7 separate regions of the Homo sapiens genome follow, and all the other regions are linked to region 6. Evidence: promoter capture Hi-C in 16 types of primary human blood cells and fetal thymus (Javierre and others, 2016). All regions are on one chromosome and are shown on one strand. Each heading gives the region's core, a stretch centred on a gene start or on the middle of the fragment in contact. The rest is flanking DNA. Distances are from core to core; before and after follow the strand shown.

Region 1 (3,685 bases), core at 174-2,673, 310 kb before region 6:
ATGTTGGCCAGGATAGTCTCGATCTCTTGACCTTGCGATCCACCCGCCTCCGCCTCCAAAAGTGCTGGGATTACAGGTGTGAGCCACCGCGCCCAGCCGGTAATGTCTTTTAAAACTGTCCAATTAAAAGTGTCCATCCAATAGCTAGTGAAGCTACAGAGGCAGGTGAGTATAGAACAAGCTTATAATCAGAGCTATCTTAACAGGAAGTGTGGGTAGGGACTCCTGGCAGGTGGTGAGAATAGATGGAGGCCAGGAGATCCTGCTGCCTTGAAAGATTCCTCTTGCTAATCTTGTGCTCAGGCCTAAAACCTCACACATAAAACTTTATGCCTTTGTTTTGTTGTCGATGTTGAGACAGAGTCTCACTCTGTCACCCAGGCTGGAGTGCAGTGGCGCTATCTCAACTCACTGTAACCTCCGCTCCCTGGGTTCAAGCAATTCTCATGCCCCAGACTCCCGAATAGATGGGACTACAGGTGCGTGTCACCATGCCCAGCCAATTTTTGTATTTTTAGTGGAGATGGGGTTTTGCCATATTGGCCAGGCTGATCTCGAACTCCTGGCCTCAAATGATCTGCTTCCCTTGGCCTCCCAAAGTGCTGGGATTACAGGTGTGAGCCATTGCACTTAGTCGAAGCTTTATGCCTTTGGATTAAGGTAATGTCTTTTGACAAAATGCACGTGGCCTTGGGAGGGATAAAAGACGACTCCACAATGGGTTACTAACACATGATAATGAGCCAGGATTGGTGCTTCATGCCTGTAATCCCAGCATTTTGGGAGGCAGAGGTGAGTGGATCATTTGAGCCCAGAAATTTAGACCAGCTGGCGCAACATAGCAAGACCACGTATCTACAAAAAAAAAAATTAAAAATTAGCTGGGTGTGATAGCACGCACCTGTAGTCCCAGCTACCTTCGAGGCTGAGGTGGGAGGATCGCTGGAGCCTGGGAAGTTGAAGCTACTGTAAGCCGTGATCACACCACTGCATTCCAGCCTGGGTGACAGAGCGAGACCCTGTCTCAAAATAAAATAAAATAAAATAAAAAATTTAAAAAATGGCTGTGCACGGTGGCTCGACCCTGTAATCCCAGCACTTTGGGAGGCTGAGGAGGGTGGATCACCTGAGGTCAGGAGTTTGAGACTACCCTGGCCAACATGGTGAAACCCCGTCTCTACTAAAAATACAAAAATTAGCTGGCCATGGTGGTGCACACCTGTAATCCCAGCTACTCAGGAGGCTGAGGCAGGAGAATTGCTTGAACCCAGGAGACAGAGGTTGCAGTGAGCCGAGATTGTGCCGTTGTACTCCAGCCTGGGTGACAGAGTGAGACTCCGTTTAAAAAAAAAATGGAATTGAGTGAGTGAATAACATTGTTGGGGTCAGCCAAAGCATGTTGGGGTGGGGTGGTGGGGCTGGTGGAGGTATGAGGAAGTTAGAAGAATACATGAGCACTTAAGAAGAAAGTTTGCCAGGACAGCATGAGGGAATATCTGGAAAGCAAAAGAGATTTTATAATTTTGATAACAGAATTTATTTCACAATTTTATCTTTAGTCAATCTTGGTCTTAATATAAAACTAGTTAAGTTAAAAACAAAATAAAACATCTCTTTTTTTTTTTTTTTTTTTTTTTTTTTTTGAGACAGAGTCTCACTCTGTTGCCCAGGCTGGAGGGCAGTCCTACGATCTTGGCTCACTGCAACCTCACCTCCCAGGTTCAAATGATTCTCCTGCCTCAGCCTCCCAGACAGCTGGGATTACAGGTGCCCACCACCATGCCTGGCTAATTTTTATATTTTTAGCAGAGATGGGGTTTCACAACATTGGCCAGGCTGGTCTCAAACTCCTGACCTCAGGTGATCCAACTGCCTCAGCCTCCCAAAGTGCTAGGGTTACAGGTGTGAGCCATGGCACCTGGCCTAAACATCTCTTATTTATGCCTGCCAACACTTGACCAAAATTGGCATCTCTTGGAGGCACTAAGGTGGGGTGAAGGGACTTGTTGATGAGCGAGGGGCTGGAGTATTATAAAATGAAACTCTTTTTTCATTGGCAGAGATTCTTCTTCCATTCTTTTTATAGTTTATATTCCTTTTACTTAGTGGGCAGAGGGAAACCTCACAGCAAATCATCCTAGAGAACCAAGACCCGGGTCAGGAAGGAGTGGCTCATGTATTTGTGTCCTCAGACCTTCTTGGCCTTCAAGCTTAGAGCCCCAAACAGGAGTCCAGAGGGGGGATCTAGGACCTTACAAAGCAAGAAAAGTGTGAGAAGAACAAAGGTGGGGCAGATTGGGTAGGGGCTGGAGCCATCCTGGCTACTTTCTTTTAGGAAGGTGAAGCCGTGACGTCAGTGCTGTAGACCAATGGGTCAACACCAGACCCTGTGGTCAATGGACCTTCATCACCAGGGATTGGGAGGCTGTGCTCCTGAGGAGGTGCTACACCTGGGGCAGGGTTGGAAGCAGGCTGGAAAGGGCCTTGCTCTCATCATCCCTTGTATATGTTCCTATTAATCCACTTATCTTAGTATATATACTGGAATTTATTTACTGAAGTTCCCTCCAAAAAGTAAACCACGAATTCCACAATGTTCACCTTGACAGTAGGCACCTGAGGTAGGCAGCATCCACGCTGCCTCCAGGGGTTCCTCCCTCTCCCGGCGCTGTGGTTGGAAGGTGTCCCCCAAACCATATGTTGGAAACTTAATCTACAATGCAACAGTGTTGAGAAGCGGGACCTTTAAGAGGCAGTGGGGTCATGATGGCTCTGCCCTCGTGGATGGATTAATGCTATTATTACAAGTGTGGGGCCCCCTCTTGCTCTCTCTTCTGTGTCCTCGCACCATGTGATGCCTTTTACCATGTTACAAGGCAGCAAGAAGATGCACATCAGATTTGGCCCTTCCATCTTGGACTTCCCAGGCTCCAGAACCATGACCAAATCAACTTCTATTGCTTGTAAGTTATCAAAAAATCTGTGGTATTCTGTGATAATGGCACAGAATGGACTAAAATCTGATATTCGAGCCCTTGTGTAGTCCCCTTCCACAGTGTACCAGAGATGGTTTGTGTGAACCATAAACAGACATGCGATAGTATGTTTCTTCTGTGATTAGGTTATAAAAATATGACGGCTTTCATCTTGGTCAGTCTCTCTCTCTCTCTTTTTTTTTGAGATGGAGTCTCGCTCTGTCGCCCAGGCTGGAGTGCAGTGGCATGATCTCGGCTCACTGCAACCTCTGTCTCCCGGGATCAAGCGATTCTTCTGCCTCAGCCTCCCGAGTAGCTGGGACTACAGGTGCACACCACCATGCCCAGCTAATTTGTTTGTACTTTTAGTAGAGACGGAGTTTCACCATATTGGCCAGGTTGGTCTCAAACTCCTGACCTCGTGACCTGACTGCCTCGGCCTCCCAAAGTGCTGGGATTACAGGTGTCAGCCACCGCTCCCAGCCCTCTCTCTCTTTCTCTCAGATCACTATGGGTAACTAATATAGGACCTCTTATTTATCTCAGCTCCTACAAGAGTATCTGGCATTTAGCAAATCCTTATCAATGCTGATCAAATGAATGAATGAACAAACGTGGCGACATTTAAGCAAACTAGTAATGCAGTCAGTCTAAGCTAAGAGTTGAGACATTTCATATGTAACTTTAATGTGGTTTATCTTCTCAGGAAT
Region 2 (3,698 bases), core at 541-3,040, 350 kb before region 6:
TCAGTAACTGAAGGACAGCAAGATTTCTAAAAGTAAACACGCTGACAGCAAAAAGGGAAGAAACAGAAGGAGGCAAAAGGCAGAGAAGACTTGGATGATTTAATGAGTGATGAAGCCACACCCTCTCCAACATCAGTAGCCCTGAGGGGATTTGTTCTTCTAAAATGTGAGCGAGTATTATAATTATGACCAAAACAATGTAAAAACACAAAGGTTCAGCCAATCCTGTTTCAAAATAGTTACACTCAAAGAACATTTCAAAATTAAAGGGGTAAGCTTCACATATCTGGGAAACTCATACGAATAGAAAAACCCACATCCTAGTGACAGGAAACAATGCAATGCCAGATACAGATAAAATGCTGGATACTCATATGTTGCAGCCAGTTTAGAGTTTTATATCTTTTAAACCAAAGTTCAATTTTATTTTATTAACTTTTATTTTAGGTTTGGGGTGCATGTGAAGATTACACAGGTGAATACATGTCACAGGGGTTTGTTGTACAGAGTTCGTCACCCAGGTATTAAGCCCAGTATTCAATAGTTATCTTTTCTGCTCCTCTCCCTCCCACCTTCCCCACTCAGGTAGACCCCAGTGTCTTTTGTTTCCTTCTTTGTGTTCTTAAGTTCTTATCATTCAGCTCCCACTTCTAAGTGAGAACATGCAGTATTTGGTTTTCTGTTCCTGTGGGAGTTTGCTAAGGATAATAGCTTCCAGCTCCATCCATGTTCCCGCAAAAGATGTGATCTTATGCTTTATTATGGCTGCATAGTATTCCGTGGTGTATATGTACCACCTTTTCTTCATCCAATCTGTCACTGATGGGCATTTAGGCTGATTCAATGACTTTGCTATTGTGAATGATGCAATGAACATACATGCACATGTGTCTTTATGGTAGAATAATTTATATTCCTCTGGGTATCAACCAGTAATGGGATTGCTGGGTTGAATGGCAGTTTTGCTTTTAGCTCTTTGAGGAATCACCCTGCTGCTTTCCACAATGGTTGAACTAATTTACACTCCTACCAACAGTGTATAAGCGTTCCCTTTTCTCCACAACCTCCTGACATCTGTTATTTTTTTGACTTCTTAGTAATAGCCATTCTGACTGGTGTGAGATGGTGTCTCATTGTGGTTTTGATTTGCGTTTCTCTAATGATCAGTGATATTGAGCTTTTTTTCATGTTTGTTGGTCACATGTATGTCTTCTTTTGAGAAGTGCCTGTTCATGTCCTTTGCCCACTTTTTTTTTTTTTGAGACAGAGTCTTGCTCTGTCACCCAGGCTAGAGTGCAGTGGCATGATCTCATCTCATTGCAACCTCTGCTTCCCAGGTTCACGCCATTCTCCTGCCTCAGCCTCCCAAGTAGCTGGGACTACAGGTGCCTGCCACCACGCCCTGCTAATCTTTTTGTATTTTTAGTAGAGACAGGGTTTCACCATGTTAGCCAGGATGGTCTCATCTCCTGACCGTGTGATCTGCCCGCCTCGGCCTCCCAAAGTGTTGGAATTACAGACGTGAGCCACTGTGCCCGGCTGTCCTTTGCCCACTTTTTAATGGGGTTGTTTTTCTCTTGCACATCTGTTTAAGTTCCTTATAGATGCTAGATATTAGACTTTTGTCAGATGCAAACTTTGCAAATATTTTCTCCCACAATTTGAGTATTTTATATAAAATGGTCAAACATCTATACTAGGCAAATGAAACAGGTCTATGTCCTAGTCCTCCCTGGTTTGGGTTTTCTTTTGAGATATGATTTATAATACATAATATTCATGCATTTATAGTTTGGTGAATTTAGTAAATCTATACAATTGTGCAACTACAATTGGATCACTACAATCCAGTTTGAGAACACCTGCATCACTTGAAAAAGTTCCCATGTGCCCATGTGCAATCTGTTCCCAATACCCAAGCAACAACTGACTTGTTGTCTCTATAGTTTTGCCTTTAAAAAAATTCATATAAACAGAATCATACAGTACATAGTATTATGTGTCTGGCTTCTTTAACTTCACATAATTTTTCAAGGTTTATTCATGTTATGGAGTGTGTCAGTAGCTCATTTCTTTTTATAATATGGATTCTGTTATATGGATATACCACATTTTGTTTACCCATTCATTTGAATTATTTTCCAGTTTGTGGTTATTATGAATAACGGTGTTATAAACATTCACAGACAAGTCTGTGTGAACATATTTTTCATTTCTCTTGGGTAAATACCCAGGAGTGCAATTGTTTGGTCCTAATATGGTAAGAATACATTTAACTTTTCTAAAGCGATGATTTTATTTTGCATTTCTACCAGCAATTTATGATGCTTTAAAGTGTGTATCCATATCCCTGCCCACATGTTGTACTATCAGTCTTTCTGATTTTGGCCAATCTAGTGGGTGCATAGTGTTACTGCACTTTTTAAACATAGTTGTTGAGATATAATTCATATACCATAAACTCGGCCAACCCAATGATTTTTAGTATACTCAAAGTCGCACAATTATCACTATAATCTAAAATACTAAGATCTAATAATGTAAGTTTTTAACACTGCAAAAAGAAATCCTGTGCCTCTTAGCCATTCCTCACTCCCCATAAACCCCCAGCCCTAGGCAACTGTGAATCTACTGTCTCTATAGATTTACCTATATGAACATTTCATATAAATGGAATCATATAATACATGCAGTCTTTTGTGACTGGCTCTGTCACTGAACGTAATATTTTCAAGGTTCATCCATTTTTTGTTTAACACAAATCAGTACTTCATTCCTTTTTGATGGCAAAATAATACTCCATTGTATGGCTATACTGCATTTTATCTATCCACTCATCAGTTGATAGACATTTGCATTGTTCCTACTTTTTTGGCTACTATAAATAATGCTGCTATGAACATTCAGGTATAAATTTCTGTGCGGATGTGTTTTCATTTCTTTTGGGTATATACTGAAGAAGTAGAGTTACTAGTTCATAAAGTAACTCTATGTTTAACGTTTTGAGAAACTGCAAAACTGTTTTCCAAAGTGGCTGCTCCAGTTTACATTCCCATCAGTAACATAGAAGGGTTCCAATTTCTCTAAGTCCTCACCAATACTTGTTATCATCTCTTTTTGATTATAGCATCCTAGTGAGTATGAAGTGGTATCTCACCAAGGTTTTGATTTGTATTTCCCTAACAGCTAATATGTTGAACATCTTTTAATGGGCTTTCTGGTCATTTGTATAACTTCTTTGGTGAAGGATCTATTCAAATATTTTGCTCATTTTTTTAAAAAATTAGGTTTCCTAGCAACAGTTTCAAGCTTTGAAGTCAATTTTATCATTTTTTTTCGTGAACCTTTCTTATAGTATTATGTCTAAGAAATCTTTGCCTAATCCAAGGTCTCAAAGATTTTCTCCTATGTTTTCTTCTAGAAGTTTTATAGTTTTAGCTCTTACATTTAGGTCTGTGATATATTGTAAGTTAATTTTTTTTGTTTAAGGTGTGAGGCAAGAGTCTAGGATCTAGACTTCGGGTTCATCTTTTTACAAAGAGATGTCAAATTACTCCAGCACTATTTGTTGAAAAACTCTCCTTTCCTCTATTGAATTACTTTAGCACCTTTATTCAAAAATCAATTGACTACATATGTGAGTTTATTTTTGGATTTTCTATCCTGTTCTACTGACCTGTTTTTATCCTTATACCAAT
Region 3 (3,691 bases), core at 501-3,000, 330 kb before region 6:
CTATCCCTATGTACATAGGTGTGTGTGGTTCTCTTGCAACACAAGTGACTCTTGTACCAGTCTACTGGCATGGCACCATAATGACAAGCTACTGCATATATAAAATGTACTTCTAATATCACACGTGAAATAAATGTTCTTTGACAGTTCATAATAAAGTTATTTCTTCAATAGAATCCATAGGCTCAACATAATAAAGTTATTTCTCCTTTTAAAAAAAAAAAGGTTGCACCTAATTTAAAAGTGTTTTTCGATGGGGCTCTATGGAGCCCAAGAGTTGTCACAGGGGCTGATGGATGACATATGTATGAGTGTGGGCAGGGGAAGGAGAGCACAGTAGGTAGAGGGCTATATCCAATCAGCTAGAAGTTATACTTTATTACACTTTTATATGTTTCATAGTTGGGAATTCCATGTTAAATTTTATTTGGAAAAAAAGGTTTTGCTACTTAAAATAGCTTTTTCAAAGAACTGCTTTAGACCATCGTAGTTATGATTTTCCAATCCAATACACTAAGAGGGTCAAATGGACAGAAAGAACAAACGAATATAAAATGTTCTCCATTATTGCCCTCTGTATTTTATTTATTTATTTTTACTTTTTTTTTTTTTTTTTTGAGACGAAGTCTTGCTCTGTCGCCCAGGCTGGAGTGCAGTGGCGAGATCTTGGCTCATTGCAACCTGCGCCTCCTGGGTTCAAGCAATTCTCCTGCCTCAGCCTCCCAAGCATCTGGGATTACAGGCACCCGCCACCACGCCCAGCTAATTTTTGTATTTTTTAGTAGACACAGGGTTTTGCCATGTTGTCCAGGCTGGTCTCGAACTCCTGACCTCAGGTGATCCACCCACCTCAGCCTCCCAAAGTGCTGGGATACAGGCATGAGCCACTGCGCCCGGCTGCCCTCTGTATTTTAGACTTAACAGCAAGAGAGATTTGATACAAAAGAGGTGAAAACCATGACTTAACACTTCCTAGAAAATTATCGTGAAAATCCAAAATTTATGATAACTAATTCTATTATGCATATATTAAGGGATTAAACATTTCCCTTTCTTAAACACTTCCAGTCTGAAGCAAAATCAAATAGAACAACAAAGTCTGTCAGTACCTGTGGCTGTTGTGTACTTCATGGTTCTTTGCCTCCACACCCATGTCCTATAACATAAATCCAAAAGGAATTACAATTAAACAGAATAGGCAACACAATTGTTCTTTCAAAAGAATTTCAGTTTCTTAAAACATGAAACCTTAAGCCAACTAACAGTGCTTTAGTAAGACTTTCTTAGTGGGTAGAAAACTAATCTAGAACTCAAGAGTTAGAGTTCTGGCTGTTTTCCCTCGTACTACCTGTCCTTGAATGAGTCACCTAGCCTGCTTGTTCCTGAGGCTGGCATAAGACCACAGTCAGAGATGATTAAACAACCAAGGTATACCAACATCATCTAGTTTAGCTTTTTTGAAACCTTTTTGGCTACAACTCACAATACAAACTACCCAGGACACACACTTAATGAAAACAGATGTTTTGTTAAAAATGACTCATTCTGCCCTGGCCAGGCACGGTGGCTCACACCTGTAATCCCAGCACTTTGGGAAGCCGAGGCAAGCAGATCATGAGGTCAGGAGATTGAGGCCATCCTGGCTAACACGGTGAAACCCTGTCTCTACTGAAAACACAAAAAATTAGCCGGGCGTCATGGCGGGCACCTGTAGTCCCAGCTACTCGGGAGGCTGAGGCAGGAGAATGGCGTGAACCCAGGAGGCAGAGCTTGCAGTGAGCCGAGACTGGGCCACTGCACTCCAGCCTGGGTGACAGAGCGAGACTCCGTCTCAAAAAAAAAAACAAAAACAAAAAGAACAAAACTCTTTTGGTTCTTTCAGTTGTATCCTATTTTATTAAAATATGCTGGTCAATCTACAGTTTGAAAAATACCAATCAAGTTTAAACATGAGACATGTTTAAAAAGTAAGACCAGAGAAATAAACGGAAGTTAAACAGGGGCAACAGAAAGAATGTTGGCTGTGGGACCAGAAAAGCTGCATTCTCATCCGAGTCCCTCCAATGACCAGCTTGCCCAGGGTCGAGTCACTTTACATCAGTGTTTCTCCAACTTTTTTTTCATTATTACTCTCCTAATGAGAAAACTTTTAAAAGATTTTATTCCTTGTAGGAAGGGTGGGGTAAGGTTGAGCTTTGGAAAGCCGTAAACCATGACAAAATCTAAGATTTCCTGGCTCTCCTAAGAATCAATTTCCACCCTTTAGCGGTGGTATCATCCCAGTTGAGGATGCAAGATTTAATAGCTTGGGCTTCAGTGTTCTCACACACGAGATGAGACTATAAGAGGTGATCTTGAAGGTACCTCTCAGATTTAAAAGTACTATACAATTCTATTCCAAGTCCTTGTATTTAAAAAAATGGAGAAATGGGGAGACAAAATGACTTGAGGTATTTTAATGAGGTAGAAGTCTCAACAATTTTTAAGTTTCGTGATACCTGTGTATAAAATAAAGTAACCAAGAGCTGACAGAAAACAGGCCAGATTCACTTTAGGAACAAAAAAGTATAACGTCTATTAAGTTTCAGCTAAAGAGGATAAGTGGGCTGGGTGCAGTGGCTCACGCCTGTAATCCTAGCAATTTGAGAGGCTGAGGTGGGGGGATTACCTGAGGTCAGGAGTTCGAGACCAGCCTGGCCAACATGGTGAAACCCCATCTCTACTAACAATACAAAAATTAGCCAGGTGTGGTGGTGCGCACCTGTAATCTCAGCTACTTGGGAGGCTGAGGCAGGAGTATCACTTGAACTTGGGAGGTGGAGGTTGCAGTGAGCCAAGATCGTGCCACTACATTCCAGCCTGGGTGACAGAGTGAGACTCCATCTCAAAAAAAAAAATAAATAAATAAATAAAAAGCATATGCAGGGAAACAAACAAATTACAGAAGCAATTCCACCTATCTTTTTGTCTATACCTGGAAGATGTGGTTATAAAGGACTAACTAACCATTTTAGATTATTCACAAAGCACAAGATAAAAGCACAGCGTGTGCATTAGAAACTATGTAACTAGGCAGTAGTATATACATATTATGTATATGACTATGTAGTTGAGCAGGACTAGTATTTCACTGGAGCGGAGATGCAGTAGACATCTACACATCTATATGCGTCTATACACTCATTGCCCTACAATGCACACTCAGATGCTGCCATCCATGAGGAGCTGCTGGGAAGACCCACAGCTTTGGCAGGAGAGTTCCGTGAGCTAGCTTCCTCACGAGGCTGCTGCTTTCCCACACCTTTCCATTTCAGCTGATGTTACCTTCTTGATCCTGAAGGAGGGGGATCATCTTTCCTGATCTTTATGAGGTATTTTCTAGCTCATAGCATCGTCTTCCCTTTACATTCTTCAGATAGGCTTCTGATAAGTTTCAAGGCCTATTCTGGGCAGATGTATCTATTAAATGGTTGCTTGTTGGTAAAGCTAGCTTAAGACTGATTCGGTTTCAAGGCTACTGTTGACCTAAAGCTTTCTTTTGCAATCTTCTAGTGAAGACAGAAGAAGGGAGAGAGGGAAAAAGAGGGAGAAAGAGACAGAGATCCCACTTAACTGTAATCCACTATCCCAACAATGTTCTGATCATCTATTCCATTTTTCACAATTATCTAAGCTGCAACTTAAAAGCAAT
Region 4 (3,549 bases), core at 821-3,320, 360 kb after region 6:
TTATTATGGGTACATAATCAATGTGGATATTCACAGGGTACATGTGATGTTTTGATGCAGGCATACAATGCGTAATAATCGCATCAGGGTAATTGGGGTATCTGTCACCCTAAGCATTTATCTTTTTTTTAAACCAATTGTATTCTTTGTGACTGTAAAATATATAAGAAATTATTGTGAATTTTGGTCACCCTGTTGTGCTATCAAATACTAGATCTTACTCATCCCTTCTAACTATATTTTTGTACCCATTAACCATCCCCACTCCCTCCCTCCCTGCTGTTGGCCTTCCCACCTTCTGGTAACCACCATTCTTCTCTCTGTCTTCATGGGTTCAGTTGTTTTAATTGTTAGCTCCCACATGAGTGAGAACGTGTGAAATGTGTCTTTCTGTGCCTGGCTTATTTCACTTAACATAATGTCCTCCAGTTCTATCCATGTTGCAAATGACAGGATTTCATTCTTTCTTATAACGGAATAATATTGTATTGTGTATATGTACCACATTTTCTTTATCGTTCACCTGGTGATGGACACTTAGGTTGATTCCAAATCTTGGCTATTGTGAATAGTGCCGTAATAAACATGGAAGTGCAGACGTCTCCTCATATACTCATTTCCTTTGTTTTGGGTATATACCTAGCAGTGGGATGTGGATCATATGGTAGTTCTATTTTCAGTTTTTTGAGGACCCTCTGTACTGTTCTCTATCGTGATTGTACTAACTTAGATTCCCACCAGCAGTGTACGAGGGTTCCCTCTTCACATCCTCGCCAGCCTTTTGGATGAGAGTCATTTTAACTGGGTGGGATGCTTTCTCATTGTAGTTTTGATTTGTGTTTCTCTCACAATTAATGATGTTGAGCATTTTTTTATATGCCCCTTGGGCCATTTATGTGTCTTCTTTTGAGAAATGTGTGTTGAGATCTTTTGCCCATTTTCAAATGAGATTGTTTGGCTTTTTTCTATAGAGTTGTTTGAGCTTCTATATTCTGATTATTAATCCCTTGTCAGATGTATATGTAGTTTGCCAGTATTTCCTCCCATTCTGTGGGCTGTCTCTTTGTTGATTGTTTTCTTTGCTGTGCAGAAGCTTTTTAACTTGATGTGATCCCATTTATACATTTTTGTTTTGGTTGCCTGTGCTTTTGAGGTACTACTCAGGAAATCTTTGCCCAAACCGATGTCCTGGAGAGTTTCCCTAATGTTTTCTTGTAGTAGTTTCGTAGTTTGATGTCTTAGATTTAACTCTTTAATCCATTTTGATTGCATGGTGAGAGCTAGGGGTCTAGTTTCATTCTTCTGCATAAAGATATCCAGTTTTCCCAGCACAAGTCTTTATTAAAGTCCCAACTTACCTATTTTTCTTTCATTGCTTTTTCTTTTGATGTCACATCTGAGAAACCATTGCCTAATCCAAAGCCACAAAATTCAAGCCTTTGTTTTCTTCTAAGTTTTATACATTTAGCTCTTATATTTAGGTTTCAGATTCATTCGAGTTAATTTTTTTTTTTTTTTTTTTTTTTTTTTTGAGACAGAGTCTCGCTCTGTCACCCAAGCTGGAGTGCAGTGGCGCGATCTCGGCTCACTGCAACCTCCACCTCCTGGATTCAAGTGATTCTCCTGCCTCAGCCTCCTGAGTAGCTGAGATTACAGGCACCCACCACCACGCCCAGCTAATTTTTTTTTTTTTGTATTAGTAGAGATGGGGTTTCACCATGTTAGCCAGGAGGGTCTTGCTCTCCTGACCTCGTGATCCACCCGCTTTGGCCTCCCAAAGTGCTGGGATTATAGGCATGAGCCACTGCACCTGGCCGCTCTAGTTAATTTTTGTACGTGGTGTGAGGTAGACACCAAACTTTATTCTTTTTTATGTAAATATCCAGTTGGCCTAGAAACATTTGTTGAAAAACCATCTCTCAATCGTCTTGGAAGCCCACAGACTTGAATGATGTGGCTTGACTTCTCAAGCTTCATCTCCTGCAGCTGCTGCTTCCCCGTGCCTCTTCACAGGTGACACCACTCTGCTTTGCAGCTTCTTGAACATACAATGTTCTTTCATGCCTCACCAACTTTCTACATACTCTCCTCTGCCAGGAAACACTGTCATCTCTCCCTTTCTCTGTCTTAAATCTGGAAGATTCCTCTAAAGTGCCTAATGTTTTACCTGAAGCTTTTTCCTGTACCCTCCTGTTTCTATTCCTAGGCAGAAGCAGTGCCTTTCTTCTTGGTTGTGTTGGTGACATTTGCCTGTGCTTGCCGTAGCATCATTATACTTAGGTGACTGTTTCCTTGGTCGCTTTTCTCTCAGAGCCTTAGCACTTAACCATTATGCCGGCCATGTAGTAGATGTTTGTTCAATGAAGTGACAGACTGTAGATGTTTGTTCAATGAAGTGAATCATTGTCATGTGTTCTTAATAAAGCTCATTTTTAGTCCATGTGTATATTCTGAGAATATGTCCTCCTAGTTTTTTGGTGATGAAGTTGCCTTTTATAAAGGGATATAATAGGTGGTGAATTTTAAAAATATGATGACCCCCATGATACTTCCTTGTTTTAAATTTTTTAAATTTTCTTGGTCCATGAAATGTAAAGGTATAGTAACCACTGAACTAGAGAAGTAATCTTTTTTAAATGGTATGGCATTTACTAAGTAGTCATTAACACCTAATAGATGATATTTAGTGTGTGTGCTGTGTGGCCGTCACCGCCGTCAGTCATCACTCTGCTTTCTTCCTGAACTGTGTTGTTTCGGACCCCATGGGTGAGCAGTCTGAAGGAATGGCTCCCGTGTCTTCATCTACGGTCAGTTCTGTAACGAAAACTTCTGGGCAGCAGCAAGTGTGTGTGAGCCAGGCCACCGTGGGAACCTGCAAGGCTGCCACCCCCACCGTCGTCAGCGCCACGTCCCTCGTGCCTACACCAAACCCCATCTCTGGGAAAGCCACAGTATCCGGTGAGTTGCATTGTGATATTATTTCTCTCTCTTTTCTCTCATTGGGCTGGAATATTTTTGTTTGTTTGTTTGAGATAGCGTCTCACTCTGTCGCCCAAGCTAGAGTGCAATATCACAATCTCGACTCACTGCAACCTCTGCCTTCCAGGCTCAAGCCATCCTCCCACCTCAGCCTCTTGATTATCAGGGACCACAGGCACATGTCACCACACCCAGCTAATTTTTTGTGTTTTTGGTAGAGATGGGGTTTCACCACGTTGCCCAGGCTGGTGTTGAACTCCTCAGGTCAAGCAGTCCACCCACCTCAGCCTCCCAAAGTGCTGGGATTACAGGCGTGAGCCACTGTGCCCAGCTATTTTTTTGGAGGGTCTTAAGCAATATTTTGTATGGTAAATTGTTAAAAGTAATTAACCCAGCAGCATTTTCTGAACAGTTGCTTTTTAGATGAATTATTTTTGTTTAAAATCTACGTATCAGATTTTGTCTGAGACTTTAAATTATCATTTGAAAGTTACTATTTGAATTTTTGAATGATATAATAAACCCTTAGCCACGCAGAACCCTACTGGGTATTTTAGCTTTTTTTATAAC
Region 5 (4,066 bases), core at 154-2,653, 320 kb after region 6:
CCCCCAAAGTGTTGGGATTATAGGCATGAGCCATTGTGCCCCGCCCCTCTTCCTGTTTTAGGCTGAATAATACTGCATTGTATGTATATACCACATTTTGTTTATCCGTTCACCTGCTGATGGACACTTGCGTTGCTTCCAGCTTTTGGCTGTTGTTAATAGTGCTGCTATGAACGTAGGTGTACAGGTATCTATTCAAATCCTTGCTTTCAGTTCTTTTGGGTATATACCCAGAAATGGAATTGGCTGGATCCTATGGTAATTCTATTTTTAGAGGAACCACTGCTATATTTTTTCGTGGTAGCCGCACCATTTTACATTCCCACCAACAGTGCACACGTATTCCAGTTTCTCCACGTCTTCACCAGCATTTGTTAATTTTTTTTGTATTTTAATTTATAGTAGTTATTCTGTTGTTTGTGATGTGATATCTTGTGGTTTTGATCTGTGTTTCTCTAATCATTAGTGATGTTGAGGATCCCTTCATGTGTTTGGTGACCATGTGTTTATCTTCTTTGGAGAAATGTCTATTCAGAGACATTCAGAAAATGTCTTTGCCCATTTTTAAATTAGGTGGTTTGGTTTTTGTTGTTGCTAAGTGACAGGAGTTATTCATATATTCTGGATAGTAACCCCTTACCAGATAGATGATTTGCAAATATTTACTTCCATTCCGTGTTATATTTTTGCCTTTTCACTCTGTTGATTGTGTCCTTTGATGCACAGAAGTTTTTAAGTTTGATGTCCCGTTTGTCTATTTTTTATTTTGTTGCCTGTGCTTTTGGTGTCGTGTCCAAGAAACCATTACCAAATTCAGTGTCATGAAGCTTTTCCCTTACATTTTCTTCTAGGAGTTTTATTGTTTTAGCTTTTATGTTTCGTTCTTTGATCCTGAGTTAATTTTGGTATATAGTGTAAGGTAAGGGTCCGATTGCATTCTTTGGCATATGGATATCCAGTTTCCCTGGCACCATTTGCTGAAAATACTGTCTTTTCCCCCACTGAATGGTCTTGGGACCCTTGTCAAAGATCATTTGACCATATATGTGAGGATTTATTCTGTTCCATTGGTCTGTATGTCTGTCTTTATGCCAGCAGCATACTGTTGATTACTATGGCTTTGTAATAAATTTTGAAATCAGGAGTCTGAGACCTCCAACTTTGTTCTTCACCTTCTCTCCCTTTTTTTGTATTCATCATATAATAATCAGCAATAGCCATTTAATCAGAGTTCACTAATTAAATCTTACTCTGTCTAGAGAAATCTGCTGTATTATATCAGAAGGTACTTATTGAGCGCTGGTCCAGGTGCTGGGAATACAGAAATGAACACGGTAGCTTCTTCCTTCAGAGTCAAATTCTTAGTGGCATTGAAAATGGGGAGGGTAGACAGTAAACACAAAAGCAAATAAAATTACTTCAGTTACAAATAAGTGCTGTGAAGATAAGAGTAGCTGGGGGATAAGGAAGTAGCTTATTCTTGGGTGGTTAGGCATGGTCTCTCTGAGAAGGTGCTACTTCATTGAGACCTGCTGGTGAGAAAGGCAGCCATGCAAAGATTTGGAGGAATAGCGTTGTAAGGAGTAGCAACAGCAAAATCAAGAGGTCCCAATTTTGTGAATAATTTCACTGAGATTTGTATGTTAAACCAGATTAGATTTTCACTGAGGTATGTGTCTGTTAAGCCAGATTAGATTACCTTCTAGAATAAATCCTTTAGTTCTTCAGATTGAAATTGCCTTTGAAGTGTGATTAGAAGTTATCTCTCACATCCCGGAGATTACATTCTTGGACGGGACTTGAGCTTTCTGTGACATTGATGATGGACTCATGAGCCTGATTGTTGCCCAATTGTCTAGGTAGTGGATGTTGAACTCCATCGCCATTCTCTCGGAGAAGACTGTATCTATCCTCAGTCCTCGGAGTCTGACATCTCTGATGCCCCTCCATCTTTGCCTTTGACCATTCCAGCCCCAGTGAAAGCTTCTTCACCAATAAAGCAGTCACATGAGCCAGTACCCGATACCTCTGTGGAGAAAGGTAATACAGCAGTTTTCCTTGCATAGCGTTGTTCTGAGGCATTCCTTTCCCATTTGCTGCTTTCAGAGACCTATAGTATATGGAAAATAACTTTGCTATAAGTGGACATGCTGCCTCTACTACACAGTTCTGTTATGAAAGCCAAATTTCCACTCTTGTCAAAAATATTTTTCCGGCCGGGAGCTGTGGTTCACACCTGTAATCCCAGCACTTTGGGAGGCCAAGGCGGGTGGATCATGAGGTCAGGAGATTAAGACCATCCTGACTAACACGGTGAAACCCCGTCTCTACTAAAAATACAAAAATTTAGCTGGGTGTGATGGTGGGTGCCTGTAGTCCCAGCTACTCGGGAGGCTGAGGCAGGAGAATGGCTCGAACCCGGGAGGTGGAGCTTGCAGTGAGCTGAGATGGTACCACTGCACTCCAGCCTGGACAACAGAGCGAGACTCCATCTCAAAAAAAAAAAAAAAAATTTCCATGAAGTTTTACTGACATATTATAAAATGTAAAAATAGCTAAAAAACATAAGATTTTTAAATTTATTTTTATTTTATTTTATTTTGAGATGGAGTCTTGCTCTGTTGCCCAGGCTGGAGTGCAGTGGCATGATCTCGCCTCACTGCAACCTCCACCTCCTGGGTTCAAGCAATTCTCCTGCCTCAGCCTCCCTGTTAGCTAGGATTACAGGCGTCCACCACCGCTCTCGGCTAATTTTTGTATTTTTAGTAGAGATGGGTTTTCACCATGTTGGCCAGGCTGGTCTCGAACTCATGACCTCAGGTGATCCACCCACCTTGGCCTCCCAAAGTGCTGGGATTACAGGCATGACCCACCACGCCTGGCCTAAAACAGATTTTTATCACTTGATAATTCCTTATAATGTATTACAGGAAGACTTTATGGTTCAGCTTCTGATTGTGCGAGCAAGAAACTTGGATATTAAATACCTGGTTTTACTTAAGAAAAGATTCATCACCAACAATGTATTTTGACCATGCCATTTTTAAATTTAACAAATATATGTGTATAAATACATATTTTAATGTTCCCATATATAAGCATAAAAGATATAAAATTGATCTTAAATGTTTTATTTCTAAGCCTATATTTTAATGTGGTTAGTATTATAGTTCTTTTATAAAATCTCAACTTTATTCCTCTTTAGATTTCAATTGCATCTTTTTTATGGGCATTTAATAAGATACAAGAGGGGCCGGGCACGGTGGCTCATGCCTGTAATTCCCAGCCTTTTGGGAGGCTGAAACCATCGGATCACCTGAGGTCAGGAGTTCAAGACCAGCCTGGCCAACATGGCAAAACCCCGTCTCTACTAAAAATACAAAAATTAGCCAGGGATGGTGGTGCATACCTGTAATCCCAGCTATTCCGGAGGCTGAGGCACAAGAATTGCTTGAACCCGGGAGGTGGAGGTAGCAGTGAGCTGAGATCACACCACTGCACTCTAGCCTGGGTGACAAGTGAAATAATGTCTCAAAAATAAGTAAATAAATAAGATAGGAGGATATCATTAGATTTAGTGAATGCTTTCTAAGATTTTTTCTTCTCTAAACAGTTTTTCAGTTTATATATTAAAAAATGGAGGAACATAAGAACTTTTGTTCTTTTTATGTTATACATGGTTTATAGTTAATAATGTTTTCAAGTTTTTTTAAAAAAGCACTTTAAACATTATTCTAAGCATATATATTTTTCACCAAAAATATGAAGGGATGATTGATTGTATTTATTTTGCTACCAGTACATGGTTTAAAATGGTGTTGAAATAATGCATTTTTATTCTTTTTCCACAACGGTAAGGTTTTATTTCAAAGCGATTGATGACTTGCCGTTTGCCTCTTTCATCTCAAGCAGGATTCCCAGCTAGCACTGAAGCTGAACGACACACTCCGTTTTATGCTTTGCCATCTTCATTGGAAAGAACACCCACCAAAATGACTACATCCCAGAAAGTTACCTTTTGTTCCCATGGCAATTCAGCTTTCCAGCCAATAGCATCAAGCTGCAA
Region 6 (4,008 bases), core at 998-3,497:
CCAAAGATCTTTAGTGGCGTGACAGAGGGACCAGGGATATGTCTAATAACTGAAATGTCTGTATAATCACAGTGTACACAGTATTTCTACCCAAATTATCTTACTTATCTTCACAAGTAGCCTTTGAGCTGAGTGGGAAAGTACTATTAAAATTCCTATTTTTCAACCTGAGGTCGAATGACTTGTCCAGGGAAAGATTCAAATCCAGACGGTCACACCCCGAGTCCACTGCTCTTTCTCTATACCACAACTTCATGCCTGTGCTGGGTTTTAGCACAATCATTTCAACTTTCATCATATTGCAGATTCCGAATTCTGTTTCATTACAAGTTCTTTTTCCTCTTATTTCACACTGCCTTCAGCAATATTTCACATTCAACCTTACCTGGTAGGATCCTACTGATCTTTTGTCGTAAAAGTTCAGTGCCCACAATTGGCACCAGAAACTTTTTTCTAAACTTGAATTATCAAAACTGGGCCTTCCCATATAAATCATCTTTACAAAGTATGTCCTCACAAGTGTATCATTTGAGATGTGCACGATTATTACAGCAAACACGTTGGACTAATTGAGGCAACATTTAACATGCAAGTACCAAGAAAGCAGCTTTCACAAATGTGTAGAAAACCAAGGCAAATAGTTCCTGGCTTTATCAATAAAAGCTGATTTGCATTCATGGGAGGACCTCCAAGCACAGTCAGCAACAGAGAAAATGATCCCGATAATTCCAGTTGCCCACATCCAGAGGTTCTGAACCTGAATGTGTGTCTTTACTGAGGGAGGTCCAGGGAAGGCCAAGGGGAAGAAAGTGCTAAGAAAAAACTGACTGGGAACTGTCTCAATGTCCTCTTGCCCTTACTTAGTCTGTGGGGCCTGACGTTCCATCACAACCCTTATTTCAGGAGCAAGCAATGCATGTTTTGCTCCTCTTTTCAACTCAGGGAAGAAGATTAAAATTGCTCAGTCTCCTTGGCTTGCAGAGATTTCTCGCGGGGATCATCAGGGGTGTGCTTAACCCTCCAGGCAGCACAGTAAAACAGGCCTAGCGGCCGAGCTGCGCAGGGGCGCTCCCATGTAACCTGCCTCTCCCTGCACTTTCTTATAAACAAGCCTTCAGTGGCGTGGCAATCATTTCTGCTGAAAAGCACTGGCATTCGTTCCTCTTATGCCCTCTCCTTTCTCACTATCCCCAAAACCAGAACATAACTTCCCACCCACCCTACTCCCGTCAGAAGCAGCTAACGGATGGTAACAGCCCAGCAGCCCTCGGTTTGGAGCTCAACGGACTCGGCAACCACCTGGTGAAGGCACCAGCCTCGGCCCCCCGACCCCCACCAGCGGCGCGCCCCAGGGATGCCCCCCGCTGGGCACCGCAGGCAGGACCCAGAGCAGCGAGGCCCAGATGCCGGGCAACCCCCCAGGAAGCGCGCTGCCCCGGGGCAGCGGGTGAGGCCAGGAGCCAGATGAAGCCCAGAGACCATCCTCACCCGCCATTAATAAAACGCAGGAAAAATTAAAGCTTCGTTTACCGACATGAGTGATCACTGTGGCCAGTCGCCGGGTGAGCTCCTGGGGAGGCATCTCTTCTTTTAAGCAAGACAGCATTTCACTGAAAAACCATTCCGTATAAATAAAGCCAAACAAAACTGTTTCTACCGCTGCGGTGGATGATTTTTTAAAGGCATCTCCGCCCAAGGATGCTCTGCCCTCGCCCTCTTCCTGGCTCTCCAGGCAAGAAACGAGAGTCCCTCGCAGCCTAGGCCAGCTCTCCCTCGCCACGCCCCGCGGGGGCTCCCGTGACAGACCAAGTCTGGCGCTTTCCCAGCGTCGCAGCTGGACCGAGAGAGGAGCGGCCGTTCTGCAAAAGGAAGCAAGTCGCCAATCTCGCCGGAACCGCGCCCCGGCTCCTCCGGCCGGGCGAGCTCCGGGGCTTCCAGAATCGCGGTCCCGGCCGCCAGGTTTCCGGCGCCGCCTCCAGGGACTGTAGAGTGAGGGATGCTCCGCCAGGTGCAGGGGAGGCGGCAGGTGGCCGTGGCTTCTCTGCGCCGCCGGCCCCACGCCCCAGCGCCCACCTCGTCCAGCCCACGGGTGGCGCCCGGGGCTCTCGGGGAGGCACGCACGCTCCCAAGCGCCGCTCGTTTTGGGGTCGGGAACGCTGCGCACCTTTCCCTGCGGGGAGCCCGCGCTCCACCCCCGGAGTGGAGCTCCGGTCCTTACTCGGAACCGTGGGGCGGGGAGACAGTGACTGAGGCGCTCCAGTCGCACCGGGGTCCGGATCATCAGACGCGCGCCGGCCAGGTCTCCGCCCCTCCTTCTTCCGCGCCGGGTGTCTGCGGAGGAGCCGCGGAGAGAAGGGGGCTGGCCCGGAGAGCTGCCGCCATCCGGCAGGACCCGGAGCGGGAGGCTGGGTGAGGCGCCGCTGCTTGCCCCACCTCCTGACCCCGGGGGCGGCTGGCGTGTGTTTTCCCCCACTTGGGGTTGTTCCACGCAGTTCTTGACCTCCGCTGGCCACACCTGCACTGGGAGCCCGGCGCCCGGGCTGCGCTCCGACAAGGCTGAGCACGCGTGGGCGCGCTCACCCCCTATGTGGGCGTTTTCCTTCGTGCAGCTGCGCCCTTGCCTCTGCTCCGTCTGTCACCTGTCAGGCACGCCAGTGCTACCTTCTGGAGGGGCTGTGGCACATCCTCCATGCTGGTCCTCCTCCCCATCAGCCCATTATCCCGTGGTTTCCCTAGTTGGGCCCAGACACTTTCTGACTGGCAGCAAAAGACTAACCCCAGTTCAGCAGAGCGCTACGGGAAACGCCTGAGCAAATGCGAATTCGGTCAGGTTGTCCCCCAATCCTTTCTACAGCGGGAGTCCCTGAATACTCAGCAGGCGGAATGGCGGGACCACCCAGGCGGATGTTCTCAGCCATCTCTTTCCTCTTCGATATGTAAAAAGCCAAGCCGCAAACACCCTGGATCCAAATTCTAGGAGTAGCCACCCATCACAGGGGGCTGAGGGTATTTTTTTAATGCTTTCTCTTTTCTTCTTTTTTTTGGAGACTGAGTCTGGCTCTGTCGCCCAGGCTGGAGTGCAATGGCGCGATCTCAGCTCACTGCAAGCTCCGCCTCCCGGGTTCACGCCATTCTCCTGCCTCAGCCTCCCGAGTAGCTGGGACTACAGGCGCCCGCCACCACGCCCGGCTAATTTTTTGTATTTTTTAGTAGAGATGGGGTTTGTTTCACCGTGTTAGCCAAGGATGGTCTCGATCTCCTGACCTCGTGATCCGCCCACCTTGGCCTCCCAAAGTGCTGGGATTACAGGCGTGAGCCACCGCGCCCAGCCCTTTTTAATGCTTTCTCTAACAATTGTGGGCTGTGATTGAGAAGCGAGGTCAGTTCACCTGTGTCATGAGATTTGTGGAGAGGTTCTTCCCCCTGTGAAGTTTGGGCACTTTGCACTCTGCCTGCAAAACAGAGCAAGGATTTTCTTTTTCTTTTCTTTCTTTTTTTTTTTTTTCGTTTTTAGAGATGGAGTTTCACCATATTGCCCAGGCTGGTCTCAAACACATGGACTCAAGTGATCATGCCCGGCCACTGAGCAACCATTTTCACAACCACCTTTTGCAAGAGATTCAAAAAAGGGTTAAAAGGCCGGGCGTAGTGGCCCACGCCTGTAATCCCAGCACTTTGGGAGACCAAGGCGAGCGGATCACAAGGTCAGGCATTCAAGACCAGCCTGGCCAACATAGTGAAACCCCATTTTACTAAAAATACAAAAATTAGCTGGGTATGATGTCACGCACCTGTAATCCCAGCTACTCGGGAGGCTGAGGCAGGAGAATTGCTTGAACCTAGGAGGCGGAGGTTGCAGTGAGCCAAGACCGTGCCATTGCACTCCAGCCTGGGCAACAGAATGGGACTCCATCTCAAAAAAAAAAAAAAAAGAAAGGTTAAAGATCCGCAGGAGGGGAGGCAGCTTTTGAATTATGTTTCCGGCGTTCAAGGGTCACAAGAATTTTC
Region 7 (3,769 bases), core at 289-2,788, 340 kb after region 6:
TGTCACCCAGGCTGGAGTGCAGTGGCATGATCTTGGCTCACTGCAACCTCCACATCCTAGGTTCAGGGGATTCTCCTACCTCAGCCTCCAGAGTAGCTGGGACTACAGGTGTGTGCCACCATGCCCAGCTAATTTTTGTATTTTTAGTAGAGATTGGATTTCACCATGTTGGCCAGGCTGGTCTCGAACTCCTGACCACAAATGCTCCTCCTGCCTTGGCCTCCCAAAGTGCTGGGATTACAGGCATGAGCCACCACGCCCGGCCAAACTTTTTTCTTTATACTTCTGAATTTCCCAAATTTTCTATTAAAGTAAATTATAAAAAGTAGCTGAGGCAAGACAACAATTGTTAAGCTTCTATTATTGTAATACCCAAGTGTAAGAAATACAGTTGCCGTTCACACCTGTGTAGGTAGCTTTCCTAGATGACTGAATTAGGCTGCATGTATTATGTGCAGGCCTTTGTTTTGCTCTCTGCCAAAACGGTGACTGCTGTTCTAAGAGCTCTCGAAGCACCGTTGGACTCTGCTCTGTTTTGAACAGGTTGTCGGGGTACCAGTTGGGTCTGCTTTACCTTCAACAGTGAAGCAGGCTGTGGCGATCAGTGGTGGCCAGATCCTGGTAGCCAAGGCCAGCTCTTCTGTCTCCAAAGCAGTTGGGCCAAAGCAAGTTGTAACCCAAGGAGTTGCCAAAGCAATTGTGAGTGGAGGTGGAGGAACCATTGTTGCTCAGCCAGTGCAGACCTTAACCAAGGCCCAGGTTACTGCCGCTGGTCCTCAGAAGAGTGGATCCCAGGGTTCAGGTAAAACGGATCATCACTGGGAGCCCTTTCAGCAGAAGCTCTGTCCAAAATTTCCTTTGCTAGTGATTTTATTTGCTATTTGATCTGGTCTAGGAAAGCCTAGTTAGGTTGATGCTGTAAGAAGTGTATTGAAATGTTTGTTCTTTTTTATGGGACATTTTACATAAAGGTCTGTGAGTATTTAGCTTTAAATTTACACACACACACACACACACCCACATACACACACACACACGAACAAATCATTTCTCAGTACTGTGGGGGATTGGTTCCAGGACCCCCTGCTGCAGATAGCAAAATCCACAGATGCTAATCCACAGTCCCCTGTGTAAAATGCTGTACTGTTTACGTATAACCTATGTACATCCTCTGATGTACTTTACTTTATATCATCTCTAGGTTATCTTAATACCTAATAACAATGTAAATAACAATGTAATAACAATGTATATGCTATGTAAATAGTTGTTACACTGTGTTGTTTAAGGAATAATGACAAGAAAAAAGTCTGTACATGTTCAGTACAGATGTACTCATCCTTTTGTCTGCCAAATATATGGATATTTTTTATCTGAGGTAGGTTACATCCATGGATGTGAAATCCACAGATACAGAGGGCCAATGGTACTTGCCAGTTAGGAGCACACATTTGCCCTAACTTTGACTTTAAACAAATGGGGGAAAATATGTAATCCTCCATAGACAGGGTGATTATTTCATTAATCGTCCAAACCACAGTACTTTGGAGAGTAAAAAGAGTCATTATTAATAATTATAGTGGGACAGGTGTAACCTAGAACTGTTCTGGGCAGAACCAGGACGTACGATCATCCTATTATATACAGATATAAAGAGCCTCTGGCAGGCTCTTCTGGTCTATAAATTATTTTTTAATTAGCAAGATATTTAAGAATATCAGTCTTTAAAGCATTGTGCATCTGGGAAACAAACTTTGAATTTATTGCTTGTTAGTGTTCTAAAATAAGAATTTATTGCCTTGTATTTTAATTTTAGAGTGTTGCCCTTAGTTTCAATTTATCTTACAATTTTTTCTCCTTTACCATTTTAGTAATGGCAACGTTGCAGCTACCAGCCACTAATTTGGCCAACTTGGCAAATTTGCCTCCTGGCACTAAACTCTACCTAACTACAAACAGCAAGAACCCTTCAGGAAAAGGAAAACTGCTGCTGATCCCTCAAGGAGCCATCCTGCGAGCTACGAACAATGCTAGTTAGTGAAACCATTGGGTTGAATCATTTGGTTCTTGGTTCTCTATGTGTGTTCATCTTGTCCATCTGAGGGCAGTTCTTACCTGTTTCAGGAAGCATTTCTGTAACTCTGTTGGGTGGTGTAATGGTAGCATTTGCTCAGATGGATTTAACACATACGATAATTTAACTAGAAGTGGGTTTGCTCCTCAGCGTTTGCAATCAGAGATGAATCACTCTGGAGAGAGATGGCTGGTGAGGCTGTTGGGAGAAAGCTGTCTACATGAACCATGAATGAAGTGGTGTCTGAAAATTATCTGGTGATACCTGAGGGAAGATCCATCTACTTATAGAAGCTGGAAGTCTGTTTTTGGGGATAGGTTGGCATAGGATTGGAATCGAGTGTGTCTGTTTGACTTCATTTAGATCAGGGGTCCCCAACCCCTGGGCCGCACAGCAGAAGTTGAGCATGGACGAAGAAGCATTACTGCCTGAGCTCCGCCTCCTGTCAGATCAGCAGTGGCATCAGATTCTCACAGGAGCGCGAACCCTGTTGAGAACTGTGCATGCGAGGGATCTAGGTTGTGTGCTCCTTATGAGAATCTAATGCCTGATGATCTGAGGTGGAACAATTTCTTCCCCAAACCACCCCCCGCCTCCTGTCCCAATTCATGGAAAAGTTGTCTTCCATGAAACTGGTCCCTGGTGCCACAAAGCTTGGGGACAGCTGGTTTGGATGTATTCCTTACTTCTGCTAGGTTTGGAGATGGAAAGAGAAATACAGACTCTACCTAGGTTTGTAAGTCTTAAAGCCCCATGGAAATGAGGCAGTTTATCTGCAGTTAAAGAAACTTTTGCTTTGACATATAGAGAAAAACCGTTTGGGCAGTGTTGAAAAGGATAGGATAAAAGGAAATTATTTCCCTCTGAATCAGAAGTAGAAGGGTACAGCATTCAGGGTCATTGGAAGTTAACCGCCCTTGCCAAAATGCAGTGTGTCAGCTCATCATCCTTGCGTTCATTGACCATGATGTGTCAGTTCCACTCTCACTTGGTGTTTTTTCCTCATACCTAAGCAGTGGTATGTCCAAAAGTTAAATGTGTAAGAAAAGGACAATGTAAATATTTCAGAAGTCATCCAGGGAGCTACTTAGATTCTTGTGATATCCTTGGTGCAAAAATAAACCATTGGGAAGGAAGCTATTCCAATAATCACTGGAATGAAGGTGGAGAAGGAAATTGGAAGTTAGTATTTGTTGAGTGAATATTCATAGTCCAGGTAGTTCAAATGCATTATCTCACCAAAAGAGAAGTAAAAAGACTTCAAGGCTTTGAAGTGGGATTTGAAAGGCAAAGAAGAATGGGGTCCTGGAGTCATTGTAAATGAAGGAAAGTCTTCATTTTTCCTGAGACAGGGAGACAACATCGAGCACTGTAAAGTTACACTAAATTCCAGCAATTCCCTGACATTGAATCAGATGCCCAAAAGTTGGGAAGCACCTAGCTGAGCACATTTAAGTGTTGATTAAAATACTTGGCTAGAGGCTGGGTGCAGTGGCTCACACCTGCAATCCCAGCACTTTGGAGGGCCAAGGCGGGCGGATCATGAGGTCAGGAGATCGAGACCATCCTGTCCAACATGGTGAAACCCCCTCTCTACTAAAAATACAAAATTAGCTGGGCATGGTGGCACACGCCTGTAGTCCCAGCTCCTTGGGAGGCTGAGGCAGGAGAATCGCTTGAACCCGGGAGGCAGAG

The links. Contacts are between HindIII fragments. The CHiCAGO score rates a contact against its expected background, and 5 or more counts as called.
Region 1: a contact is called between a fragment that was not itself captured here and the fragment with the promoter of MCF2L2 in region 6, in 14 of 17 cell types (M1 macrophages, M2 macrophages, M0 macrophages and 11 more). The highest score is 12.8, in M1 macrophages.
Region 2: a fragment that was not itself captured here is called in contact with the fragment with the promoter of MCF2L2 in region 6 in 3 of 17 cell types (M1 macrophages, M2 macrophages and activated CD4 T cells); the score reaches 8.5 in M1 macrophages.
Region 3: a contact is called between a fragment that was not itself captured here and the fragment with the promoter of MCF2L2 in region 6, in 2 of 17 cell types (M1 macrophages and activated CD4 T cells). The highest score is 5.3, in M1 macrophages.
Region 4: a fragment that was not itself captured here is called in contact with the fragment with the promoter of MCF2L2 in region 6 in 12 of 17 cell types (fetal thymus, activated CD4 T cells, total CD4 T cells and 9 more); the score reaches 8.6 in fetal thymus.
Region 5: a contact is called between a fragment that was not itself captured here and the fragment with the promoter of MCF2L2 in region 6, in 10 of 17 cell types (activated CD4 T cells, naive CD4 T cells, naive B cells and 7 more). The highest score is 6.5, in activated CD4 T cells.
Region 7: a contact is called between a fragment that was not itself captured here and the fragment with the promoter of MCF2L2 in region 6, in 14 of 17 cell types (megakaryocytes, endothelial precursors, activated CD4 T cells and 11 more). The highest score is 8.4, in megakaryocytes.

Annotation. Positions count from the first base shown.
Region 1 is chr3:183,118,374-183,122,058 of GRCh38, forward strand. No RefSeq gene overlaps it. Among named protein-coding and RNA genes, the nearest start is that of MCCC1, 21 kb to the left of the region's middle. The HindIII fragment of the contact is 1,570 bases long and covers 639-2,208 here.
Region 2 is chr3:183,074,299-183,077,996 of GRCh38, forward strand. All of the region lies in intron 4 of MCCC1 (methylcrotonyl-CoA carboxylase subunit 1), which reads right to left. Among named protein-coding and RNA genes, the nearest start is that of MCCC1, 23 kb to the right of the region's middle. The HindIII fragment of the contact is 3,033 bases long and covers 275-3,307 here.
Region 3 is chr3:183,093,450-183,097,140 of GRCh38, forward strand. It overlaps MCCC1 (methylcrotonyl-CoA carboxylase subunit 1), which reads right to left. Exons shown (of 19, transcript NM_020166.5): 2 at 1,110-1,156. Among named protein-coding and RNA genes, the nearest start is that of MCCC1, 4.2 kb to the right of the region's middle. The HindIII fragment of the contact is 3,557 bases long and covers 1-3,529 here.
Region 4 is chr3:183,788,023-183,791,571 of GRCh38, forward strand. YEATS2 (YEATS domain containing 2) reads left to right here. Exons shown (of 31, transcript NM_018023.5): 21 at 2,775-2,958. Among named protein-coding and RNA genes, the nearest start is that of YEATS2-AS1, 21 kb to the right of the region's middle. The HindIII fragment of the contact is 202 bases long and covers 1,970-2,171 here.
Region 5 is chr3:183,750,214-183,754,279 of GRCh38, forward strand. YEATS2 (YEATS domain containing 2) reads left to right here. Exons shown (of 31, transcript NM_018023.5): 10 at 1,860-2,040; 11 at 3,913-4,066. Among named protein-coding and RNA genes, the nearest start is that of YEATS2, 54 kb to the left of the region's middle. The HindIII fragment of the contact is 1,156 bases long and covers 826-1,981 here.
Region 6 is chr3:183,426,372-183,430,379 of GRCh38, forward strand. MCF2L2 (MCF.2 cell line derived transforming sequence-like 2) reads right to left here and starts at 2,248. Exons shown (of 30, transcript NM_015078.4): 1 at 1,531-2,248. The coding sequence starts at 1,606. RefSeq lists a silencer at 1,998-2,077. The HindIII fragment of the contact is 2,747 bases long and covers 1,519-4,008 here.
Region 7 is chr3:183,771,762-183,775,530 of GRCh38, forward strand. YEATS2 (YEATS domain containing 2) reads left to right here. Exons shown (of 31, transcript NM_018023.5): 16 at 544-802; 17 at 1,872-2,033. Among named protein-coding and RNA genes, the nearest start is that of YEATS2-AS1, 37 kb to the right of the region's middle. The HindIII fragment of the contact is 2,373 bases long and covers 353-2,725 here.